2 separate regions of the Homo sapiens genome follow, and region 2 is linked to region 1. The links are contacts of gene promoters, found by promoter capture Hi-C in blood cells and fetal thymus (Javierre and others, 2016). All regions are on one chromosome and are shown on one strand. Each heading gives the region's core, a stretch centred on a gene start or on the middle of the fragment in contact. The rest is flanking DNA. Distances are from core to core; before and after follow the strand shown.

What was found. The method cuts DNA at HindIII sites, captures the fragments that hold promoters and counts their contacts. A CHiCAGO score of 5 or more calls a contact.
Region 2: a contact is called between a fragment that was not itself captured here and the fragment with the promoter of NEUROG1 in region 1, in 1 of 17 cell types (megakaryocytes). The highest score is 6.0, in megakaryocytes.

Annotation. Positions count from the first base shown.
Region 1 is chr5:135,533,819-135,541,106 of GRCh38, reverse strand. NEUROG1 (neurogenin 1) reads left to right here and starts at 5,143. Exons shown (of 1, transcript NM_006161.3): 1 at 5,143-6,825. The coding sequence starts at 5,417. The coding sequence ends at 6,130. RefSeq lists an enhancer at 4,641-5,156 and a silencer at 5,274-5,568. The HindIII fragment of the contact is 9,722 bases long and covers 1-7,288 here.
Region 2 is chr5:135,494,091-135,501,160 of GRCh38, reverse strand. No RefSeq gene overlaps it. Among named protein-coding and RNA genes, the nearest start is that of NEUROG1, 38 kb to the left of the region's middle. RefSeq lists a silencer at 2,856-3,056. The HindIII fragment of the contact is 7,994 bases long and covers 481-7,070 here.

The sequences.
Region 1 (7,288 bases), core at 3,894-6,393:
ATGTGATAGTGTCCCCTTCCCCTCAGCCCCTTCAGATTATCATCTCAGTACTTGTTATTACAGGACACTAACCTTCCAGTCCAGTTCCTGTTACAGCATCTCTTAACCCCAGGTTGAAGTGTTTCTGATAACCAGCAGAGAGGCTATTTGGCTCAACCTTGCTTTTACAAAAGGGCTGGAAGGCTATGGACTCTAACTCCAAACGAGGACATACACATGGTCACTGAGACACTGACAGGGTAGAGGAAGATGCTCCGTCACAAATTCCAATCTGGATCCATCCCTGGATCTCTATGCCTACAGGCACTATAATTTGATGGTCACTTTAAAATCCTGAAATTGCCTTGTGAACAGCACAGACTCCTTTATATTTTTATTTGTTAACCACATTGATTTATTATATGTAAACTTTTATAATTTACCACCATTTCTCCCCTATTTTGGCCTTTATTTAAAAAATAATAATAAACCAAGTCTCTCAAGACCCTGGAAGCATCCAACACCTTGCTGCACCCTGAGAGTCCCTCCCTCTCACCTCTCAAGAAAGCTGTTTCTTCATCAGTGTGTCGATGCCAGAAAGGCCTTCTTGATGATGAAGTAAAATCACATCCCTGCTGGTCCCACCAGAGTCTTGAGTCAGATCCCTAGGGCTGCCTGGAACAGGTATGCCCTTAGAGCTCATCTTAGCTGTCACATAAATGTACTTGACCTGCTTCAAGAGCTGAGGCAAGCACAGGATAGGAGGGTGGTTGCTAATGCAAAATATCGATTCTAGTGTGAATAAATTGGCTCTAGGTATCAGTCAATAGTGACTTTAGCATGTGCTCCAGAGATTCTGATTCCAGGGGTACGGGGTGGGGACCCCCACCATCACTACTACCCCAGGTAACCACAGTGTAAGAAGCTCCAGCTTAATCCTTAGTCCCTTGGAACATCTGCCCCACCTTGGAACATCTGGCTACCCTCCCCTGCCCCCCAGCAGATTGGCAGCTGGATGTCCACACATCAGGCAGAACACCTGGTATGGTGCTCACCATAGCAGCGCCTGCTGTGGTTGGATTTATTACATGCCCACATCACCTTCTATTATACTCTGAGAATGAGGGTACACTCAGGTACTATGCTTAGAAGGCTTCGAGGGGCAGGAGAAACTTTCATCTTCCCTGGCAAGCATGCACATCCTTCTAACTGTGGCCTGGCCTTTTTCTCTTGAGGAGAGGCTCTGGGCCTCTTAAGCTGCCCGTTCATTCTCATCCTGCCAGGGCTCAGTTCCATCCTCAGTAGATCACTTATAGGAGGGCCCCCTGCAGATGCACTTATAAAAAGCACAAGGGGTAGGCACTAACAGCCAAGAAGGAGCCACAACATGCCCTGCCCAAGAGCCAGGAGCAGGCAGGGCAAGGCTTGGATGCTTGCCTGCTCAGCTCTCTAAGGTTCAGGAAAGGGAGTGAAGCATGGCAGGAGAAGGCACAGACCTACTGCTAGCTCATAAGGTGCGTCTGGACATATTTGACAAGGTGCCCTCTCTGAACAGGTGTAGCCCATGTCAGGGTGCATGGTTTGGCGGGTGGTAGAGAGGCTAGATTTCAGCCCTTACTTGCCCCCTCTACCAGATGTCCTTGTACAGTGAATGACTAGAACAATTTTAACAGCCCTGCTCAGAGAAAGAAGCAAGAGGAGGAGATGGAATGGAACAAGGAAGGCTGCCCTGGCCATTCAAGGGCCACCATAACTGCCCCCTTACCCTCTTTCCACTGGGTTCACCCAGAAGCCCTATCCTCCAGACCAGCACCCACATAGCCACTATAGTAACCCCCAGTCCTCTCTTTCCTTAAATTGTCTATTCGCATCCCACCCATCCTTCAAGGCCTTCGCGAGTCCCCCCTCTGCCAAGAAGCCTTCCCTTTGGGAGGTGCACAATGCTCTTCAGATCTGCTCCCTTAATAGGCCCTCGACACCTCTCTAGTCCTAATGCTACATCTCCTCTCCTTTAGGACTATAGGCCTGCTTCACACTCCACAGAGCACCTGACACAGGGCAGCATGCAGTAGGTTCTCCATGTATATTTGTTGATTGACTATGATGGAAGAACATAGAGTAGGGCCTGAAAGGACTCTTGAGTCTGGCCTAGTTTGACCACCAGCGATCCCTGGGGTAACCTGGAAAAAAGACCTCCCCATCTCCCACCTCAGTTTCCCATGTATGAGGTGCAGTGGATAGATGAATAATTTCCAAAGGTTCTGCTGGCACTGAACCCTGGCTTGCAAGACTCAGAGCCCATGATACCCATCAGCCAAGTTTATCACCCCTGTCACCCCAGTGTCCAGCACAGTGCCTGGCCCAGCACAGGCAATCAACATAGCCAATGGATTACTTCAAAATAATACAAGGATAATTCTCTATGCTTCAGCAACCTGAGGATTTAACTTGGTGTTTTATTTATGAAACCGCAGACACTAATCCTGGCTATCTGAAGCAGAAAAGCCCCACTAACGAAAGGCCCGCTATGGGAGGGCTCATGCAATCAGTGGGAAGGCTGGAGAACCAGGCTCAAAAAACAGATGGAACAAGGGCTGGCCCTGGGAAGAGTTCAGACAGGATGTCCACTGGTTCCTGGCCACCTCTTCCACCACTGGTCACTGGCTCTCCCGGGTTGTTGCCATGACACAAGTGAACTCTAGACTGTCACCAGCTCTGAGCCTAAATTGCAAATGGGGCAGCTAACTGCCTGTACTAAAATCTTTTGGCCACACCCTAATTGCTAGGAATGGGGAAGGGGTTCTCATGCATTCAAATTTCTCAACAGGAAAGCTCTTCACGTACCTGTCAGCCAAAAAAGTGACACTGGCCAAACCAATTCTCTCATTCAGGAATTTGGAAAACCATTTGTTGTAGTGGGTTGAAATAGTGGGCCTCCATAAGATATGTCCACCCAGAATCTCAGAATGGGACCTTATTTGGAATAAGCATCTTTGCAGATATAATGAAGGCAAGGGTTGCAAGATTAAATCATCCTGGATTAGCTGGGCCCTAAATCAAATGACAAGTGTCCTTACAAGAGACAGAGAAGGAGAAGACACAGAGAGGAAGGCCGCATGAAGAAAGGAGGCAGAGATTGGAGTGACACAGCTGCCAATCAATGAATGGCCAAGATGGCCAGGAGCCACCACTAGAAGCTGCAAGAGAGGCATGTCACAGATTTTCTCTCAGAGCCTCCGAAAAGGAGCCATCCCTGCCAAAAACTTGCTTACAGACTTCTGGCCTCTTGAACTGTAAGAGAATGAACTTCTGTTGCCTTAAACCCCCTAGTTTGTGGAATTTTGTTGTGGCAGTCCAAAGAAAGGAAGCTGACACAGGGAGAGAAACAGAGGTGGGGGGCAGAGAGAGGACCCTTGGGCTCCTGCTGGTTTACACAAGTCCTCGAAGCCCTTGAGTTCTTGAGAAGCCCCCGTATCCATCCAACAACTGCCCTTTCCTGAGTGAGCTGGTCGAAGCCACTTTCTGTGACTTCTAATAAATCTCGAGCCCTTATATATGACTGTGTCCTAGCCTTCCACTGAGATCAGGGGTACCTGCAGGGTGCAGTCGGGGAAGGGGACAGCTGGGCAGAGTCCCCTGAGCCAGAAGGCAAGCGCTGGTCAGTGAGTCGAGGTGGGAACTGCCACTACACAGCCCCCTTTCTCAAAGGGGCCAATCCCCCCCCAACCCAAAGAGTCAGCTAGGCTCCCATGGCAGCAGGCCAGGCATCCGGCCTGAGGCTACCACTTGGATATCAGGTGGGGGGCAGGCACTTTGCTGAAAGCTGCTCATTTTGTTTTTAATACCCTCATCCTATAATCGAGTGCTGTTCCTTACTATTTATCCTCCAAGTACAAAGTTGGGTGATGTCTGGGCCCCTGTGGCTCCTGGGTGAGTGTAGGTGACAAGAGAAAAGTAACTCCTGACATGCAGAGGGAAGACCTGCTGGAATAGGCGAGTTTAAGACACCGAAGGCGGGAGGGGGTTTGGAGGAAAGGGGTTCCACTGTCACCTGCTGCCCTCCAGGGGCCAGCTCTCTCTCGGGCCAGGGGAGCTGGATCCCCTGGCTGGCTCACCCTGAAGAGGGCCACAGAGGCTGCAAGCAGGGCTCCAAGAGACGGTGTGCAACGGATTTCTCCGGGCATGGGGCAGGCAAGGTTTCAGGAACGCCAAAGAAAAGGAAATTCTCATATTAATAATTATATTCTCATATTATTATTTATATAAATTCTCATATTATTAATTCTTATTAAGAATCTTGAGGTGACTTGTGGGCAGAGGTGCGGAGGAGGGTGGAGAAGGGAAGGGAAAGAAGGGAAGGGTGAGACCAAGACTCAAGGCAACCTGGGAAATCACCCGATCCTCTTTTCCACTCTCCTCTTCGCACTCCCCAGATGAAGGTCAGATTCTTTCCCGTTTCTTCATCAGCCTGAACGGAGCAGCGACACTTATCCTTGCCCTGCGCCCTGTGCCTCTGGCATGGCCACTCTCCAGTCTATTTGAAAATGATTTTCACCCTGTTCAGCGGATGCTGCACATTTAGTGTTCCACAAACATTATATCTGATCATCCTCCACAGGGTAAACTTTTGTCTCATCTTACAGGTGGGGAAAGCAATGCTCAGGGAAGTTAAATTACTCGTCCAAAGTCACGCGACCACTAAGCAGCTGGAGAGGGGATGCGAACCCAAACTCCAAGTACCCTCCAGGTTTCCGCAACTCACTGGGCGGCTCACACTTTCGCGCTCGCGCCCCGCCTCCCCGTCCCACCCCAGCGAGGGGCGCCCAGCCCGCCCCAAGAGGAGCGTGCCTCGGCCGCTAATCGCCCGCCGACCCCGCCTCTGTTTCACTGCCTGGAGACGCCCTGGCCAGCTTAGCCCGAGCCGACTCCCGGGGCCGCGCGACGCCGCCGATTGGCCGGCGGTAATTACGGGCACACTCCGGGTTGGGGGAGGGGCGATGGCGGCCTCCCGCGAGCATAAATTATGCAAATACCCGGGCGCTGCACGGGGATGACCTGCCGCCTCGCTCCATTCACCCGGGCTGCCGCGGGGGCGGAGGTGGCAAGGGAGGGGGGCGCCCATTGTTGCGCCGGGTACTTAAGGGGTCCTGAGGCCAGTCGTGTGCCACACTCGGTGCTCACACGAGCTGATCTGATCGCCGGCGACATCACTCAGGAGACCGGCCGGGCGCGTGGCCCCTGCAGGCGAGGCGAGGAGGCCAGGCCAAGTTCTCCGTGCGCCCCTGCACCCTTCCAGGCTCTCGCACCCGCAACTGGCACAGAGTAACAACCCCAGGCTGTTGGGAACGTAAGTGCGCCCTGGCGGCTCTGCCCTCAGTCCGGGCTGCAGCGCTCTGAGCGCCTTTCTATCTGTCCGTCGGTCCTGCACAGCGCAACGATGCCAGCCCGCCTTGAGACCTGCATCTCCGACCTCGACTGCGCCAGCAGCAGCGGCAGTGACCTATCCGGCTTCCTCACCGACGAGGAAGACTGTGCCAGACTCCAACAGGCAGCCTCCGCTTCGGGGCCGCCCGCGCCGGCCCGCAGGGGCGCGCCCAATATCTCCCGGGCGTCTGAGGTTCCAGGGGCACAGGACGACGAGCAGGAGAGGCGGCGGCGCCGCGGCCGGACGCGGGTCCGCTCCGAGGCGCTGCTGCACTCGCTGCGCAGGAGCCGGCGCGTCAAGGCCAACGATCGCGAGCGCAACCGCATGCACAACTTGAACGCGGCCCTGGACGCACTGCGCAGCGTGCTGCCCTCGTTCCCCGACGACACCAAGCTCACCAAAATCGAGACGCTGCGCTTCGCCTACAACTACATCTGGGCTCTGGCCGAGACACTGCGCCTGGCGGATCAAGGGCTGCCCGGAGGCGGTGCCCGGGAGCGCCTCCTGCCGCCGCAGTGCGTCCCCTGCCTGCCCGGTCCCCCAAGCCCCGCCAGCGACGCGGAGTCCTGGGGCTCAGGTGCCGCCGCCGCCTCCCCGCTCTCTGACCCCAGTAGCCCAGCCGCCTCCGAAGACTTCACCTACCGCCCCGGCGACCCTGTTTTCTCCTTCCCAAGCCTGCCCAAAGACTTGCTCCACACAACGCCCTGTTTCATTCCTTACCACTAGGCCCTTTGTAGACACTGTTACTTTCCCCCTCCCCTAGTCAGCAGGCAATAGATGGGGCCCCAGCTGCCGCCTCGGGACCCCCTCTCCAGGCGGAGGGAGGAAGCGGGAGCTTTAAAGCAGTCGGGGATACCTGAGCCGCTTGTTAGGTCGCCGCACCCTCGCGGCGGATGTCTCTTGGTCTGTTTCTCCGGCCCTCAGCCCAGCGCCCCTCCTGCCCGCCCCTAGACGGCCTTTCCTTTTGCACTTTCTGAACTCCACAAAACCTCCTTTGTGACTGGCTCAGAACTGACCCCAGCCACCACTTCAGTGTGATTTAGAAAAGGGACAGATCAGCCCCTGAAGACGAGGTGAAAAGTCAATTTTACAATTTGTAGAACTCTAATGAAGAAAAACGAGCATGAAAATTCGGTTTGAGCCGGCTGACAATACAATGAAAAGGCTTAAAAAGCAGAGACAAGGAGTGGGCTTCATGCATTATGGATCCCGACCCCCACCACTGCAGACTCGCTCTAGGAAGAACTGGAGACTCTTGCTTAGCTATTCAGGCACAGGGCTGGAGAGTACTTTAATTTATTCAAGATGCTTCATTCATATGAAAATGTATTTTTGTACATAAAGAGTTTATTCTATTATGAGCTATCAAAGTTTACATTTTTGTACTGCAGACGCTTCATGTAAATAAAAACTAAAAATAAGTCGCCAAGTTTCTTGCCTAATATTAGTGTCTCTGGGGCTTTTCTTGCTTTTCCCTGCTGGCTCAACCACTAAAGTGAAACACTATCCCACTCACCTCCAAAGCCTCTGTTCCTGTTTCAAAAACAATTAAAAAATAAAACGCACCTGATTTCCACCAAGAAATGGATAAAGACAGACTAGGGCATTTGGGATCTATCATTCCTTTCACCTTGTAAACACAAGGGAGATCTTTCAGGCTCCCCATAAGCCAATTAAGACTTTTTAGTAGGGAATTAGCCCCGGATCCGCAGCTACCTGTTGAGGTAGGGGCAGTGGGAGAGTCTTTCTTTTGAGGAACTCCACATCAGCTGGCTCTGTGTTTCAAAGAGAGGGGATTAAAAAGATCAATACAGTGTGACCACTGGTTAGGAAGTCCCAGTGACAGGTGGGCCTAGGCTAGGCAAGCAGAAGGGTCCACTCTTA
Region 2 (7,070 bases), core at 3,228-5,727, 39 kb after region 1:
AATAAATTTCCTTTGTTTTTAGACACCCAGTTTGTGGTAATTTGTTATGGCAGTCCTGGGAAATGAATGCTCTAGATCAATGGTCCCCAACCTTTTTGACACCAGGGACCGGTTTCACGGAAGACAATTTTTCCACAGACCAGGGTCAAGAGTTGGTTTCAGGGTGATTCAAGAGCATTACATTTATTGTGCACTTTTTTCTATTATGATTACATTGTAATATATAATAAAAATAATTATAGAACTAACCATAATGTAGAATTAGTGGGAGCCCTGAGTTTGTTTTCCTGCAACTAGACAGTGACAGATCATCAGGCATTAGATTCTTATAAGGAGTGCACACCCTAGATCCCGCACTTGTGCAGTTCACAATAGGGTTTGCGCTCCTAGGAGAATCTAATGCTGCCACTGATCTGATAGGAGGCAGAGCTCAGGGAGTATTGTGAGTGATGGTGAGCAGCTATAAATACAGACAAAGCTTCAACCACTCACCTCCTGCTCTGTGGTCTGGTTCCTAACAGGCCATGGACTGGTATAGGCCCATGGCCTGGGGATTGGGACCCCTGCTCTAGATCTTAGGTTGGGTGATAAGTTTCTGGGTACTCATTTTGTGTTGTAACTTATGTTTGTCTTATGTGTGTACCATTGCATGAAGCAAATATTGTAAAACATGCTAAGAACAAAAAGTTAGAAAAGCATATATAACCAAAGGAAAAGTTAAGATCCCTGAGAGATGTGAGGGATTTCATGGTGTCAGATCTCTACTATGTTGAGGGATCATGCCAAGCATTTTATTTTTATTTTATTTTATTTTATTTTATTTTATTTTATTTTATTTTATTTTATTTTATTTTATTTTATTTTATTTTTTTTATTTTGAGGCAGAGTCTCCCTCTTTTCCCAGGCTGGAGTGCAGTGGCACGATCTCAGCTCACCACAACCTCGGCCTCCCAGGTTCAAGCGATTCTCCTGCCTCAGCCTCCCAAGTAGCTGATATTACAGGTGCCCGCTACCATGCCCAGCTAATTTTTGTATTTTTAGTAGAGATGAGATTTTACCATTTTGGCCAGGCTGGTCTCGAACTCCCGACCTCAAGTGATCTGCCCATCTTGGCCTCCCAAAGTGCTGGGATTACAGGCGTGAGCCACTGCGCCTGCATGCCAAGCGCTTTATAGGTGGTGTGACTTTTAATCCTCAAAGCAACCTTGTGGTAAGTATGTTACCCATTTTGCAGATATGAACACTAAGGCTGGGGGCAGTGAAATACCTGCCTTCGGAGAAAGAGAATAAGTGGAAAGGCAAAGACTCAAATGAGGATCAATTTGCCAAATCCAGGCCTTTCCCACCATAACACACAACCCTAGGCACATGCATTTACAACCCTCAAATACCAAGGTTACCAGCTACAACTCCAGCAAAAAAGGTAAACACATATCCATTTTATTTCAGATTTCTTTTCGGGCAGAGCCGGATGAACATCTTTGAGCTCACCATTTTCACATGAATTATGCATTTAATGGGCCTTATGTCTTCCAACATATCTCACCATGACCTATGTAGATCACCTTCAGTTAATCGAAGAGCGTGCTTCATCCATCATCCATTCCTTGTTACCAATCACAGTGCTGCCAATGCAGAAATCTAAGATGAAATGAAGTTTCCTTGTTCTCTTACTCCTAGGGGTGGGGGGGGAGGGGGAGTAAAGTTGCTTCTCCTGTAGTTAATAAAGGGATCAGCTGAGCAATCTATTCAGAAGTAATAAACTATCTGGAGGCAGTTACCTTGGGGGTAGGACAACCTGCCATCCTAGTTCACTTGGAACTGTCCCTGTTTCAACACTGAAATTCCCGCATCCCAGGAATCCCCTCAGTTCTGGGTAAACCAGAATGGTTGGTTACTTTTCCTGGGGAAAATGCTCCTTTTCTTCTAGGATCTGAAGTATTTACAAAGGGGTGGGAAAGAGCAGGTGGGGTCATCTGATTCAACCTTGTACTCCCTTCTGTGGCTCAGCTTGAAGCCTTGCTCCCCCCTCTCCTTCCTTTCTTCTATGAGAAAAGACATTTGTCAGACTCTGAGGCCAAGCCAGGATGCTGCAGCTGGGGGCAGGGGACACGCTCACCCACCCCGTTAGAGCAGGTGCCAGCTTCATCCTTTCTCTTCCCCGCCCCCTTTAGCAATCAGTGAATTTTAATTCATTGATAACCAAAGGTCAGCTTCCAAAGCTGCATCCCAGCTTCCCTGCCATCCATGCTTGGGAGTGAAAGCTGTGGCGACACCTTGCACTGATGTCCCCAAGTGGCAGCATGCCTGGTCCTAGTTGAACGCTGGCTCTTAGGTTCTGCTTCAGCACCATCAACTAATGGCAGGCCCAAGTACCTCTACAGTTTAAAAGACCTCATGCATACAGTGACTCATTGGATCCTCAGGTGAACAGCAGGCATGTTTGTCCAATTTTATGATGGAAACAGACTAAATGTCAGGGTCAGAAAAGTGGCAGAGCCAGACCTGAGACTGGATCTGACTCCCAGGTGCACCCGGCCTCAGGATGCCAAGGCCTGGCTCTGCATGGCTCCAAGAACAGCAGGGAAGAGGTGGAGAAGGAATCACCAGTTTTTCACCCTCTCACCTCCCCCACTGCTTTAAAAAATGTATCATAATCCTCAAGAACACACTCAGCAGATGGTAGATTCAGGAATAAATTCAGGACTGCCAGATTTTCTCCACCACAAAAACCTCACACATGTCTCCCGCCTTTGCCTCACACACAGAGTGGGAGATGAGGATCCCTACGGTGAGCACCCAGCACGAGGGAGGGACCTAGCAGCAGAGGGAAGAGGCACAGGAGACCCAGGGTCCCCTCTGTCCCTGCATGTCAGGTGGAGGATTCCCTATCACCCATCAAAGGGAGTGAGTTAGTTCAAGATTTGCAGGCTGGCCCCAGAGACCTGTCCCAAAGTCCCCAGGCTGAGCATGACAGATGTGTCTCCCTTTAACTGAGATCTGAGTCATCTGACTCAAAAGAAAAAGCACTCAGCTCATCTTTCGCTTCCCTGGCTATGAAGCCAGGGTCGGGAGGGAATGGGGTGGAGACTGATCTGTTAAATCCTATTCTGGAAAATAGCCTGGGGTAGGGTGGGGCGGGGAGGCAGGCACATGTGTGTACATGTATGTGTAAATGTGGCGCACACCTTCTCTGCAGAAAAGGTTTGAAAGCAGTGCTTGAATTTGTTTGCCAATGTCATCTACTTACTGGGTTCTGCTAAAAGAGCTAGACCCTGTGCTATGTTTTATGGAGGAGGTAAAGATTGGTGGGTCTTAGGCCCTGGTCTCCAGAAGAAAATGAATCATGTAACCATCGTCTTTATCCCAAGTGTACGATGAGCCAGGCATAAAATTAAATGCTGGGAGTAAGTACAGGGTCATTGTAAAGGCTTCAGTAGCATTTCAAATGGGATAAAGGAGAAAATAGGGGGTTGTGGACTTCTCTTCTGAAATAGGTGTCCTCCTCTCCAGTAGAAGAAAGCAGGTGCAAAGTCATTGGACCAAATCCCTGCCTCCTTTGTTTTCCACTTTTGAATAGTAAGGTGGTCCCCCAAGGACTCCCTCCACTGGCAGTAACTGGGGCAGATCATCAGGGAAGAAACCTTAGATTCTTCTTCCAGATGAGACTGGGAGTGTCCCTGGGTCATGCCCAGTGGAATCCTGCAATCCACGATTTCTACCCATGGCTGCAGGGTCCCTGCACCAGTTTCCCCTCTCATCTCCCTGCTTCAGGTCTCACCCATTCTGGTCTGTCCTCCAGAAGGCCACCAGTGGATTTTAAAATACAAGTCTGACACACTCACTATTCGTTTACCTATTTCCAGGGGTACAGAATAAAAATCCTACAGGATAAAATTCCAGCCTGTTTATTTCCTCTGTACCTTCAGCCTCATCTGTCTTTATGACCTCCACGTGCTCCCTCCCACTACCCATATCATGCTTGCAGGCCTTTGCCCAAGCTGTTTCCTCTGCTGGGACATAACCTTCCCTGCTTCCTATCATTTATGCTCCCAACTCTTACCCAACCCTAAAACTTAGTTTATATCACCCCATTTATAATGCTGTCTCCGCACCACTTATTTCCCCAAGGGTCCAGGGACTCAACAACTGCACTGACCACTATATCAGAATGAGTGGCTTATCTGTCTGTCTTTCCCTAAAGACAGTGAGTCCCCTGAGGCCAAAGATTGCACTTCTATCATCTCTGCAAGCCCAGGACCAGTACCTACAGGATCTCAAATGATAGCCTGCTAAACGTGCTCTTGAGTTAGCAAGTGGATCGCACAATTTCCTCAACTTGCCCAGGAAGATTCCTAAATGGCATCCAGGTTGTTTCCAGTCATCCAAGTCAGCAGGAGCCTCAGTGCGGGTGTTAACGACATACTTTCGGCACAGGACAACATGCCTGACGCATTATCCAGGCAGTCCTAAAAGTTTCAGAGAGGATTTCTCCACCTTTCTCACAGCCTGTTTCCTGACTCGATGACCTCTAAAATTGACTGATATAGTTTATTTTTTGGGTGCTTACTGTAGGAGATATACTTTACTTTTAATCCTTTAAAAGTAAAATATCTCACTTAATCCATAAAACACCCTAGTATATAGTCAGCAATATTCGATTTTTCAAATGAGGAAACTGAGGAACAGAAAGATTTAAAAGATCCCTTTTATTTCCTGTAGAGTTGAAGAACAGGATTATGTCCCTGTAAATCTTGCTTAGTAGCTACCTTCAAATACAAGAGTGCCTTATTTTAAAAATAAAATAAAAAGGCCAACATAGCAAACACTGGACGTATCTAATAAGTAGCAATAAGAGACAGTGGATTCTTTGGTTTAAAAACACAAGTCAGAAGCACTAATTATCAGTTCCCCCACCCCCTTCAAGTGGGGGAACTGATTTTTGTTTGGAAATAATTCAAATCAAATTAATGCAATTCAATAAATATCTATTTCATGCCTTCTATGTAGTAGGCACTATTCTAGAAACTTGGGAAACAAAGAAAGACAAAGAACCCCGCCTTCAAAGAGCTAGTAGTGAAAGAAAAACAATGAAAAATAAGTGTAATAAACAAGAAAATATGTACCATATTAAAAGGTGCAGTAGATAGCCTCTAAGACCACTCCAGTCATCCTCGCCGCCCAGTATTCAGCCCCTTGTGTAGTGTCCTCCTACACTGATCAGGGCTGACCAATAGGATTGATATGGTTTGACTGTGGCCTCACCCAAATCTCAACTTGAATTGTATCTCCCAGGATTCCCACATGTTGTGGGAGGGACCCAGGGGGAGGTAACTGAATCATGGGGACCAGTCTTTCTTGTGTTATTATAGTGAGTAAGTCTCACGAGATCTGATTGGTTTATCAGGGGTTTCCATTCTTGCTTCTTCCTCATTTTCTCTTGCTGCTGCCATGTAAGAAGTGCCTTTTGCCTCCTGCTGTGATTCTTAGGCCTCCCCAACCACGTGGAACTGTAAGTCCAGTTAAACCTCTTTTCCTTCCCAGTCTCAGGTATGTCTTTCTCAGCAGCATGAAAACAGACTAATGCAAGGATGTTACAGAAACGATGGACTATGACTTCCAAGGCTGCGTCAGAAAGGACATTGTGGCATTTTCCTTGCCACTGTTGGAACACTTGCTTTGGGGGCAGCCAGCTAGCTGCAATGTCTTGAGAATACTCAAGCAGCCCAGTGAAGAGGTCTACAAAGTGAGGAACTGAGGCCCTCACCAACAGCCAACACCAACTGCCCACAATGTGAGCATGCCATCTTGGGAGCAGCTCTTCCATTCCCAGTCACCCCTTCAAAAGATTGCAGCCTCAGCTGACATCTTGACTGCAACCACATGAGACACCCCACAACAGAACCACACAGCTAAGCCATTTCCAAACTTCTGACCCACATAAACAGTGAGACAACAAATGTTTACTGCTGTTTAAACCACTTGGATAAGGACTCTTGCACCTCTTATCCCATTTCTAGGAGTCTGGGACAATTCCAAGGTTCCAATTTACAACAACCTAACTTATGCAGTTTTCCAGAAAATGTCTTCTACAGAAACAAAAAGCTAAACCTGCCTAGGAAGTGACGTCAGAACCATATGCAGTAAAACTGTGAGAAGAAGAGCTTGCTAGGGTAGGCAAGGAGTCTCCTCTCTGTCTGATGACTTCCTCCCGTGGCTGCTCTGTGATTCTCTTGGTATTTCTAAGCACCTTCTGCGCATCAGGCTTATGCTGGGTTCTAAGGGCTCTGGAAGGAAAGACAAGGCCCATCTCACACATGTACTCAATCAACATTTGTTGAAGGAATGTGAGCTGCCTTGGAATGAGTTCCTAAAATGCTTAGTGAACTTTCAATCTTCAAATATCCTTTGACCACGTAAAAAAAGAAAGAAAGTAAACCTGCACTGTCAGAGGCACCTCTTGAGCATTGCCAGCCAGTGGCTGGCCCAGGGCCTCTCCAGAAGGCAGGAAGGGAGAAGTGGTTCAAGCCTCTGCATCTTTTACCCCTAAAGGAGGCAAGGGAAGGACAGGGAGGCTTGAACCACTGGCCATGTCAAGCATGGTGGGCTGGGGGGCAATGACTTGTGCCTGTGCAGCTCCACACAAAGGAAGTCTTAATGATGAATCAGGGCAGCAGGGTAAATATTTAGAAAGAGAAGCCTCTCCTTGGAGGGCCAGCCTTTGTCTTCTTGTTCGAACTGAAAGGACTTGGTCGAAAAGGGGTCTGTTACAATGGGATGGGAAACAGGGAGTAGCCACAGCCAGCACAATGCTGTGGCCTAAATGATGGAGGGACTAGCGGTATGTGGAGAGCTGAAACAATAACCAGAGATAGGAAGCCTCTGCCGGGATTCTCCAGGGCACCGCCCAGGGACCTTCACACATGATGCTTTAAGCCCTGGCTTCAGCTCCTGGCAGGGCTTGGTGGTGTGCCCGGGATATTCTCCATTTATCTGTCTCTAAAAGCGAATATTCTCAAGGCTCCAGAGGACAGAGAGGGCTATGCACTGACTCCTCAGTCCTTCCCCAA